3 separate regions of the Homo sapiens genome follow, and regions 1 and 2 are each linked to region 3. The links are contacts of gene promoters, found by promoter capture Hi-C in human tissues and cell types (Jung and others, 2019). All regions are on one chromosome and are shown on one strand. Each heading gives the region's core, a stretch centred on a gene start or on the middle of the fragment in contact. The rest is flanking DNA. Distances are from core to core; before and after follow the strand shown.

The links. Contacts are between HindIII fragments. The study calls those that stand out against the background at their distance.
Region 1: a contact is called between a fragment that was not itself captured here and the fragment with the promoter of JPH3 in region 3, in 2 of the 25 tissues and cell types used here (IMR-90 fibroblasts and small bowel).
Region 2: a fragment that was not itself captured here is called in contact with the fragment with the promoter of JPH3 in region 3 in 2 of the 25 tissues and cell types used here (H1 embryonic stem cells and IMR-90 fibroblasts).

What each region holds. Positions count from the first base shown.
Region 1 is chr16:87,455,935-87,458,634 of GRCh38, reverse strand. The region is part of intron 2 of ZCCHC14 (zinc finger CCHC-type containing 14); the gene reads left to right. Among named protein-coding and RNA genes, the nearest start is that of ZCCHC14, 36 kb to the left of the region's middle. RefSeq lists an enhancer at 263-1,462. The HindIII fragment of the contact is 7,552 bases long and covers 1-2,700 here.
Region 2 is chr16:87,357,093-87,359,792 of GRCh38, reverse strand. All of the region lies in intron 2 of FBXO31 (F-box protein 31), which reads left to right. Among named protein-coding and RNA genes, the nearest start is that of FBXO31, 25 kb to the left of the region's middle. The HindIII fragment of the contact is 3,111 bases long and covers 1-2,700 here.
Region 3 is chr16:87,601,106-87,603,805 of GRCh38, reverse strand. JPH3 (junctophilin 3) reads right to left here and starts at 1,298. Exons shown (of 5, transcript NM_020655.4): 1 at 278-1,298. The coding sequence starts at 659. LOC124903750 (a long non-coding RNA gene) reads left to right here and starts at 1,623. Exons shown (of 2, transcript XR_007065172.1): 1 at 1,623-1,794. RefSeq lists an enhancer at 2,197-2,700. The HindIII fragment of the contact is 15,663 bases long and covers 1-2,700 here.

The DNA of each region.
Region 1 (2,700 bases), core at 196-2,695, 150 kb after region 3:
TTCTGACAACGCCATCGAGAGCCACCTGTCTCTGATTTAGATCCTAACTCAGGAAGGACCCATTTCCCCAGCAGCTGCAGCCTCTGTTGATGTAATGAGCACGGTATGGTATGGAGACAGTAACTCCTTACTGCAGCCCTGCGAGGGCTCCTGTCCCCACTTGACCCTCGTAGCAACCCCCTGAGGTCGCAACAGTCTTTGTCTTATCCACTGCTCTTGGGAGGGTCTGTGGCTCTTGGTTGAGCGTCTTCACCGCACCCTCATCCTGGTGATGCCGCGATGCTCCAACCCCAGAGCGGACACTTGGCGTCGGAATTGCAGGGAGTCCCTCCGCTGTAGAAAGGGCTCCTCCTCTTCCTTCCCCCATGCCATCCCAGGAGAAAGGCCTGCCGTGGAGTGCCGCTTCCTTTGTCCCCAGACAGTCCAGCCTAGGAACCTGTGCCCTGCACACCCTGTGAATCTTAAGGGATGGACCCTTCAGTGCTTTTTCTTCAGGATGTAATTATTGACATCCCCATTCTTTTTTTTTTTTTTCTGTATAATTTCAAAGTAGCGAGTATCTGTCATTGTCTCGTCTGCATGCTTTGGTGCCCAGAGAGACAGAGGGTGAGCTGACTCTCATGTGAGCTGTGGCAAAGCCTGCGTAGGCTGGCGGGTCGGCTCTGAGGCCACGAGTGGTCATTCTCAAACCCCACAGTGCTTAAAATACCGCAGCGAGCAGACGCTCTTAATTACCTGCAGCATTCTCCATTCATTAGTCATAGAGGGTCGCGGTTTCTGTTGTCCGGAAATTGGCAAGTGAGTTAACTTGGTTTTCTTAGTCACTTTTCATGTGAATCCTTTTAATATTCTGTTGGGTGCAGGTTATTGCCCTTCAGAAAGTCTAAAGTCACAGTAAGTTGTATAGTTTTATTACTATAAAGTTTTCTCTCTGTCTTTTCTGTATCCTACTTCTGTTTTGGTTTTTCTCTGCTTCTTCAGAAGTCTTACAGTGATACAGTTTAATTTATAGAGTGGTCAGACATTTAAAAAATTTCTTAGTATGTAAAAGGTTAGGGAAGCTTTTATATACTTGAACAACAGTCCAAGCACATGACTAACTTACATGACAGATACTGACTTACATCATCTTCATAACAGCCCTTTGAGGGCTGATTATACCTATTTAATTCTAACTGATCCCATGTGGTGATTTTTACCCCATTTTACAGATGGGAGAACTGAGTCACAGATAAGAAATTTTCCTGAGGTCAGCTGGGATTCAAAGCCAGAGCTAATGCTCTTAACCCTGTGGCTGGCTGAAGAAAATAGCAGAGGAAAAGAAAGGTGGGACTGTACTGAAAGTGGAAAACACACCGTTGTGTGGGCAGTGCCTATGAGTACACATTAACCAGTGAAATCATTCCTTTTTTTCCTGACCTATTTATTGTGAACATTTTCCAGTTCAGGAGTAGAGATTGTAGCCTAGTAAACCCCGTACCCAGTGCCTGGCTGCAGCTCCAGGTCACTGTGTGTGGCTTCTGAGCCCCCTGCCCCTCGTGGGTGTGGCTGAGAACTGCGGTGCACTCTCCAGCGCTCCAGTCCCTGTGTTGATGATTTACTGAAACTTAGGGAAGCTGTTGTAGTGTACAAGCTGAGATGGAAACTGCTTTTACTAATACTCTCAACAAAGTAAGTTCTGTAACTTTGGACTTTGAGGAATTATAATTTTTTAAAGTTTTCTTTTTGTGAGACAGTGAAGGAGGTATACTTTCATTAAACTTGTTTATATACCAGTAGTTTTCAATCTTTTTGGTCTTAGGACCCCTTTGCACTCTTAAAAATTAGAGATTCCAAAGAATCCATGTTTATGTGGGTCACATCTATAGGTATTTACCATATTATCGATTAAAACTGAGTTTTTAAAAATTATTTTAAATGAATGTTTTCCATTGTGTGCCCCTGGGGTTTGTGTTTGCCATGCAGCGTTGTTACAGCTGAAGAGAGCTAAAGACCAAACTCCAAAACAAAATCTATCCCAACCAATTAGAACATGAATTCTAAGAAGACAAGAATTCACCTAAAATCTAAATTTTTTTTTTTTTTTTTTTTTTTTTTTTTTGGAGACAGAGTCTTGCTCTGTCGCCCAGGCTGGAGTGCAGTGGCGCAATCACAGCTCACTGCAACCTCCGCCTCCCGGGTTCACGCCATTCTCTTGCCTCAGCCTCCGGAGTAGCTGCTGGGGCTACAGGTGCCGGCCACCACGCCCGGCTATTTTTTTATATTTTTAGTAGAGACGTGGTTTCACCGTGTTAGCCAGGATAGTCTCGATCTCCTGACCTCGTGATCCGCCCGCCTCGGCTTCCCAAAGTGCTGGGATTACAGGCGTGAGCCACTGCGCCCAGCCCTAAAATCTAAATTCTAAAATGCCCACAGTCTGTGGCCTTTCCTGGGTTGTGCTGGGATTCCAGTGTGTAGCCGAAATCGAGAAGCCTTGATAGTTTCAATTTCCTTATGGGTTCTTTATCTAACATTTTATTATGAGGACTTTGAAACACACGGTAAAGTTGAAAAAGTTTCACAGTGAGTACCCTTCACCTAGATTAGACAGTTCCATTTTACCGCATAGATGCTTTTCAACTTACAGTGGGGGCTGCAAGTTGAAAATACCACAAGTTGCAATGCAGTGAATACACCACACCTGCTACACATCATGGCTTA
Region 2 (2,700 bases), core at 55-2,554, 240 kb after region 3:
ACTGTGACACTCACCGATCAGGCAGAGGCTCCTTGGCCCCAGGCTGTCTTCCCGCGGGTGTTTCTTCAGTGCCAGGGACTTTCCCATTTCTTGCTCACTGGACGAAGCTCTTGGCTTTTTTGGATGGTCAGAGGGTTTCTGTGAGTGTCTCATACCCCACGTTTTCATCTTCTGACCATTCTTTGAGCTTCTTTTCTTTTTTCTTTTTCATTTCTGCAAGGCAGTTGCTCTTTGAGTTTCTTAGGCCATTTGGGTCATATCATCTCAAAGTGACATGAAGACATATTTCTCTCTAAGAGTTGTCAGCACCAAAAGTCATGTCCCGGTAGGGACACAGGTGTTTGGCCTGCCCAGGTGTTAGGGTTTCCTGTAACAGCCATAGGAGTGTACACATGGATGCTCCTTCCAGCTGTGGGGGTCGGAGGTGTTGCCTGAGCACTGAGTCCTCCTGTCCTGTGGGAGAGGCCATCCGGGCATAGGCAGGCAGGAGGCAGTGTGGCCGAGGGTAGGGCAGGGGGTGGGCACAGAAGAGGGGATAGGAGGACAGGGCATTGGGAGATTTCTTTTCACTGCTGATTCTTGACCCCTTGAAAGTGTTTGCAAAATGCGGAGAATTCACATGATCTGTTTCCGACAGTGTTTATTCCCCGCAGTGTTAGTCTGCAGTGGCCAAAGCAAATGTCAGTGTTCATTTTCACAGCGCAGCAACTGTGTTTCTGTGAATTTGCTTTAAGGCTTATCCAGGAGAAAATTACTTAGCTTTGGGAACAGGTGGTGGAAGAAAATCAGCCTTAGCTCCAGAAACGGGTGGTGTAGTTGGGCAACCTTGGATGACCTGTGACGAGGCTGGCCTGAGTTAGCAGGCTGGGAAACGCCAGGTGGGTGCTGGGCAAAGTGAGTATGTTAGCCGGGGTAAGTGTTCTCTAGACGGTCATCCCAGATGCTCACCTGCCAGGACACCTGCCCTCCCACCTCCTGAGCCCCAGTGAGCTGTGGCCTGGGGCCTGCCGGGAGTGTGCTGGCCCCGGGAGGAGTGTGATCAAATATGGAAAGGATTTCCAAGCTTGCTGCCACCGTGAGTTTCTGGTGGCACCACTGATGGAAGGAAAACGTGTCACAGTGTTGTTCTCTCCAGCAGGTTTCTCAGAGCCACCTCTCTGTGTCCTGGGTGGCTGCATAAACACGAGGGGATTGTATCACACTGGTGAGGGGCAGGCATTGGGTCGTATTCACGCTGTTTGCACAGTCCTGTAAAGGGAGCCATCCTTAGCCCTTTCCCTGCTGTGTCTGTTCAGGTATAAACCCTCGCGTGAAGTCGGGACGTTTTGTGAAAATTCTCCCTGATTATGAGCACATGGCGTACAGAGACGTTTACACCTGCCGTATGTACCTCCTGCGAGCTTTGGCTTCTGCGGCAGCCAGCACGGCCAAGAACTGCATGGGGAGGGCCCTCTGATTCACACATGGGACAGCTTTGGTCCTGGAGCAAGCGGACCTCGTGGCTTTTTGTCATCCTTTCACGTTCACTTGCTGCAGCGTGGCTCTGCTTCAGCTGTGACAGAGATCACACCTGTGTGTTGGACCCAGGCTGCATTTGGCTTACCTTTCTGCAGTGGTTTCTGGGTACTACCAGTCGAGATCACTTTAATGCACATTTTCACATGTATCGTTTATTGAGGAGCTACTGCAGACACAGAGAGGAACGAACAGAGTAGAAGCTTTAAAATTTTATTCTAAAGTGAAATATGAATATTTGACTTCTGACCTTTATTAGTTTTAATCACATTTTAATAGCCTATGTGAATTAAAAATCACATATGCATATACCCTCAATAGACAAAGGCAGGTAGCAACAGTTGACTCCTTTTTTTTTTTTGAGGCAGAGTCTCACTCTGTCACCCAAGCTGGAGTGCAGTGTCACAACCTCTGCCTCCTCGGTTCAAGTAATACTGCCACCTCAGCCTCCCAGGTAGCTAGGATTACAGGCATACACCACCATGCCCAGCAAATTTTTTTGTATTTTTAGTAGAGATGGGGTTTCATCATGTTGGCCAGGCTGGTCTCAAGTGATCTGCCCATCTCGGCCTCCCAGAGTTCTGGGATTACAGGCATGAGGTACCGTGCCTGGCTAACAGTTGACTCTTTAGAACTTAATTCTTCTTTTTGGCCAGACATGGTGGCTAATGCCTGTAATCCCAGTGCTTTGGGAGGCCGAGGCAGGTGGATCATCTGAGGTCAGGAGTTCGAGACCTGTCTGGCCAACATGGTGAAACTCATCTCTACTAAAAGTACAAAAATTAGCTGGGTGTGGTGGCGTGTGCTTGTAATCCCAGGTACCCAGAGGCTGAGGTGGGGGAATCGCTTGAACCCGGGAGGTGAAGGTTGCAGTGAGCCGAGATCACGCCATTGCACTCCAGCCTGGGAGACAAGAGCGAGACTCTGTCTCAAAAAAAAAAAAAAAAAAAGAACCGAATTCTTTTGATGGAGCTCTGGAAATTTTTCTAAGCCACAGTTATAGGAATTTAATGCTGTCTCCACTTTTTTTTTTTGAGACAGGGTCTGTCTTGTTGCCCAGGTTGGAGTGCAGTGGCACAATTACAGCTCATTGTATCCTTGAACTCCTGGGCTGAAGCGATCCTCCTGCCTCAGCCTCCCTAGTAGCTGGGACTAGAGGCGTGTGCCACCATGCCTGGTTAATTT
Region 3 (2,700 bases), core at 49-2,548:
CTGTGTCCGACGCACGGAGGCTCTGCTGGGCCCCGCCTGGCTCTGCCCCTGGAAAGCCCCCAACACCCTTCAGCTGGCACAGGGGCACTGTCCCCACCAGGCAGCGGGGCAACCTGTAGCCAGGAGCCGCCGTGGCTTCCAGGGAAGCCCGGGAAAGGCCCCTGGTGCCCACGGCCCAACCGGAGGACGCAGCTCAACTTCCCCAGAGATCCACAGAAGGGGCGCGATCGGAAGCACGTCCCTCCCGCCCCGGCCCGGCCCGGCCCGCGGCACCTACCTCCGTCCGAGTAGGTCTCGGTCCCGTAGCCGTCCTGCAGCCCGTTGCTCCAGGTCCCTTCGTATTTGGCCCCGTTGCCCGCGCACTCCCGCACCCCGTAGCGCCCCTTGAATCCGTGCGTCCACTCGCCCTTGTACACCCACTTCCCCTTGCTCTCCAGGCCGATGCCGTGGCGCTTGCCCTGCGCCCAGGTGCCCTGGTACGTGTTGCCGCTGGGCCAGGTGTAGACGCCCAGCACCTCGAAGCCGTGGCTCCACGAGCCGGTGTATTCGCCTTGGCCCTTGGGGCCGGTGCAGACGCCATGGCCGTGCGCCTTGCCGTCCTCCCAGCCTCCACAGTAGGACCCTCCGTCGTCAAAATTAAACCTGCCCCCACTGGACATGCATGTAACTCGGTTCCAGATCCCGCAAACGGTGAAAACGGACTCAGGCGATCGACACAGCAGAGTCGCGGCCGCCGGCGGCCCTGGGTCGCGAGCGTTTTCCGGAGGAGAGGAGGACGCGGCCCCGGAGCGCGGTCTCGGGCGCGGGCGGCCGCGGCGCCGGCTCCGGAGGAATTTCAGTCAATCGGGGGCGATTATTCCTTTTCGAGCTGCGCCGCGGAGCCTGACCAGCGTCTCGCGCTCCCGCTGGAGACAGGACCGGAGGGGAGGGGGAGGGGAGGAGGGAGGGAGGGGGCAGGAGCGGCGGCGGCGGGGCCCGCGGCTCCACCTCAGCGGCGAGAGGGCCCCTCGCCGGCAGCCCCGCGGGGAGGGCGCCGCGCCGAGGCCGGGCGGGGGGCAGCTCAGGCCCGGGCCGCGGCCCCCCACCTGCGGCTGCCGCGCTGCGGGCGCCCGAGGGCGGCGGCGGGGCCCGCGGGCGGCGGCGGCGGCACGGGCGGCGGCGCTGGCGGCTGCACCATATTGGGGGCCGCGGGCCGGGCGCGGGGCGGCGGCGGCAGCAGCAGCAGCAATGCGGCGGCTCGGGCGGCGGCGGCGGCGGTGGCGGCGGCGGCGTGCGCTCCGGGCCCGGCTCGCGCGCTCGGGCCGCGCGGCGCGCGCCCGCACCCCGCCCGCCCGCGCGCCCCCGCCCGCCCCCCGCCCCCCGCCCCCCGCCCCCGCCCCCGCCCCCGCCCCCGGAGCGCGGCGGTCCCAAGAGGGGCGCGGCCCAGCAGGCTAGGGCGCGGCGCGCGGGCGGGGACCCCGGGCGCCCCGCCCTCCGCGCCCCCAGCCCCGCGCTCCCCGCCCTGGGCTTCCCCGGGGCCCCCGCCGGACTGGAAACCGGGGTCCAGCCGGGGCGCCCCCGCCCCCTCCGGGAGTGGGATTTAAAGGCACAGGAACTGCGTCATGGGAAGGCGCGCAGCACTCAGGGCGCCCTCGGCCCCCTCCCGGGAGCTGGGCGGTGAGGCCTGCAGAGCAGGACCTGCCAGCTGAGCGCCCCTACCCTCGCCCCTGCCCGCCCCCGCGCCTCGCCCCTCCCGCCGGGCTCGGATCTGCCCCGCCTGCCCCTGACTCGACTGAGGCCCTTTGCAAACCACAGGTGGTTTTCTCCGGTGACAAACAATGCTTCCTTCTTCCTTCCGGGCAGCTTGGGTCCAAGAGTGGGGGGAGGGGGGCTTACCCCAGAAAACAGGGATTTGGCGAGTCCCTCTCCCCTATAAATTGAGTGAGAGTCGGGACACACGCGTGTATCTTGGAGCAAAGTCACCCGAATTCCGTGCGCCCTGCGCCCTGGCCAACAGGTAGCGCCCCCCCACTCGGGGAACGGTCGCGCTTTTGGGGAGCAAAGTGGGACCGCCATTCGGGCGTTTCTAGGTCTCTCTCCAGACATACTCTCACCCTCCGCCCCTCTTCCCACGCACAAGAGAGAGTCTGATTCTTGGATCCGAGCATCCTGGGATCCATTTAAAATGCATTTCCTGGACCATAAATCCTCAGGCAGAAGCCGGCGTCCCCAGCCCTCCTGAAATGCGTGCGGGAAATGGCAGCAGACCGGTGCAGTGGGCTGATGGGGGTGTGGAGGCTGCCCAGGGTCCTCGCTCCTGGGAGTGTGGGCCGGTGACCGCAGCGCGGTGAGCCAGAAACTGCAAGCCAGGCCTGGAGCCTGAGATTAGGACAGGAGAAGAGGTGCGATTCGGAGCCTCCAATCAGCCAGGAGCCCTGCTCAGATCTTCCCCTGTCCGAGAGAATCAGGATGGTCCCCACTCTTGGCTCACGGGGCTCTCAGAAAAATCAGCCCCTCCTGGGAGTCCCAGAGTTCAACCTCAGTCTCTTGCCTTGGGCACCAAAGCTCCCTCCCCAGAGTACCAGCAGCCAGGAGGACAGTCACCTCCTCATACACCCACTGTCAATGAGGAACATTTAGGGCGGTCGGCTTTGTTTTGTTTTGTGCAGTTACAGTGATTCATTGAGCTTTCTAGCGCTGTCTCCCTGTGCCCCTCTACAG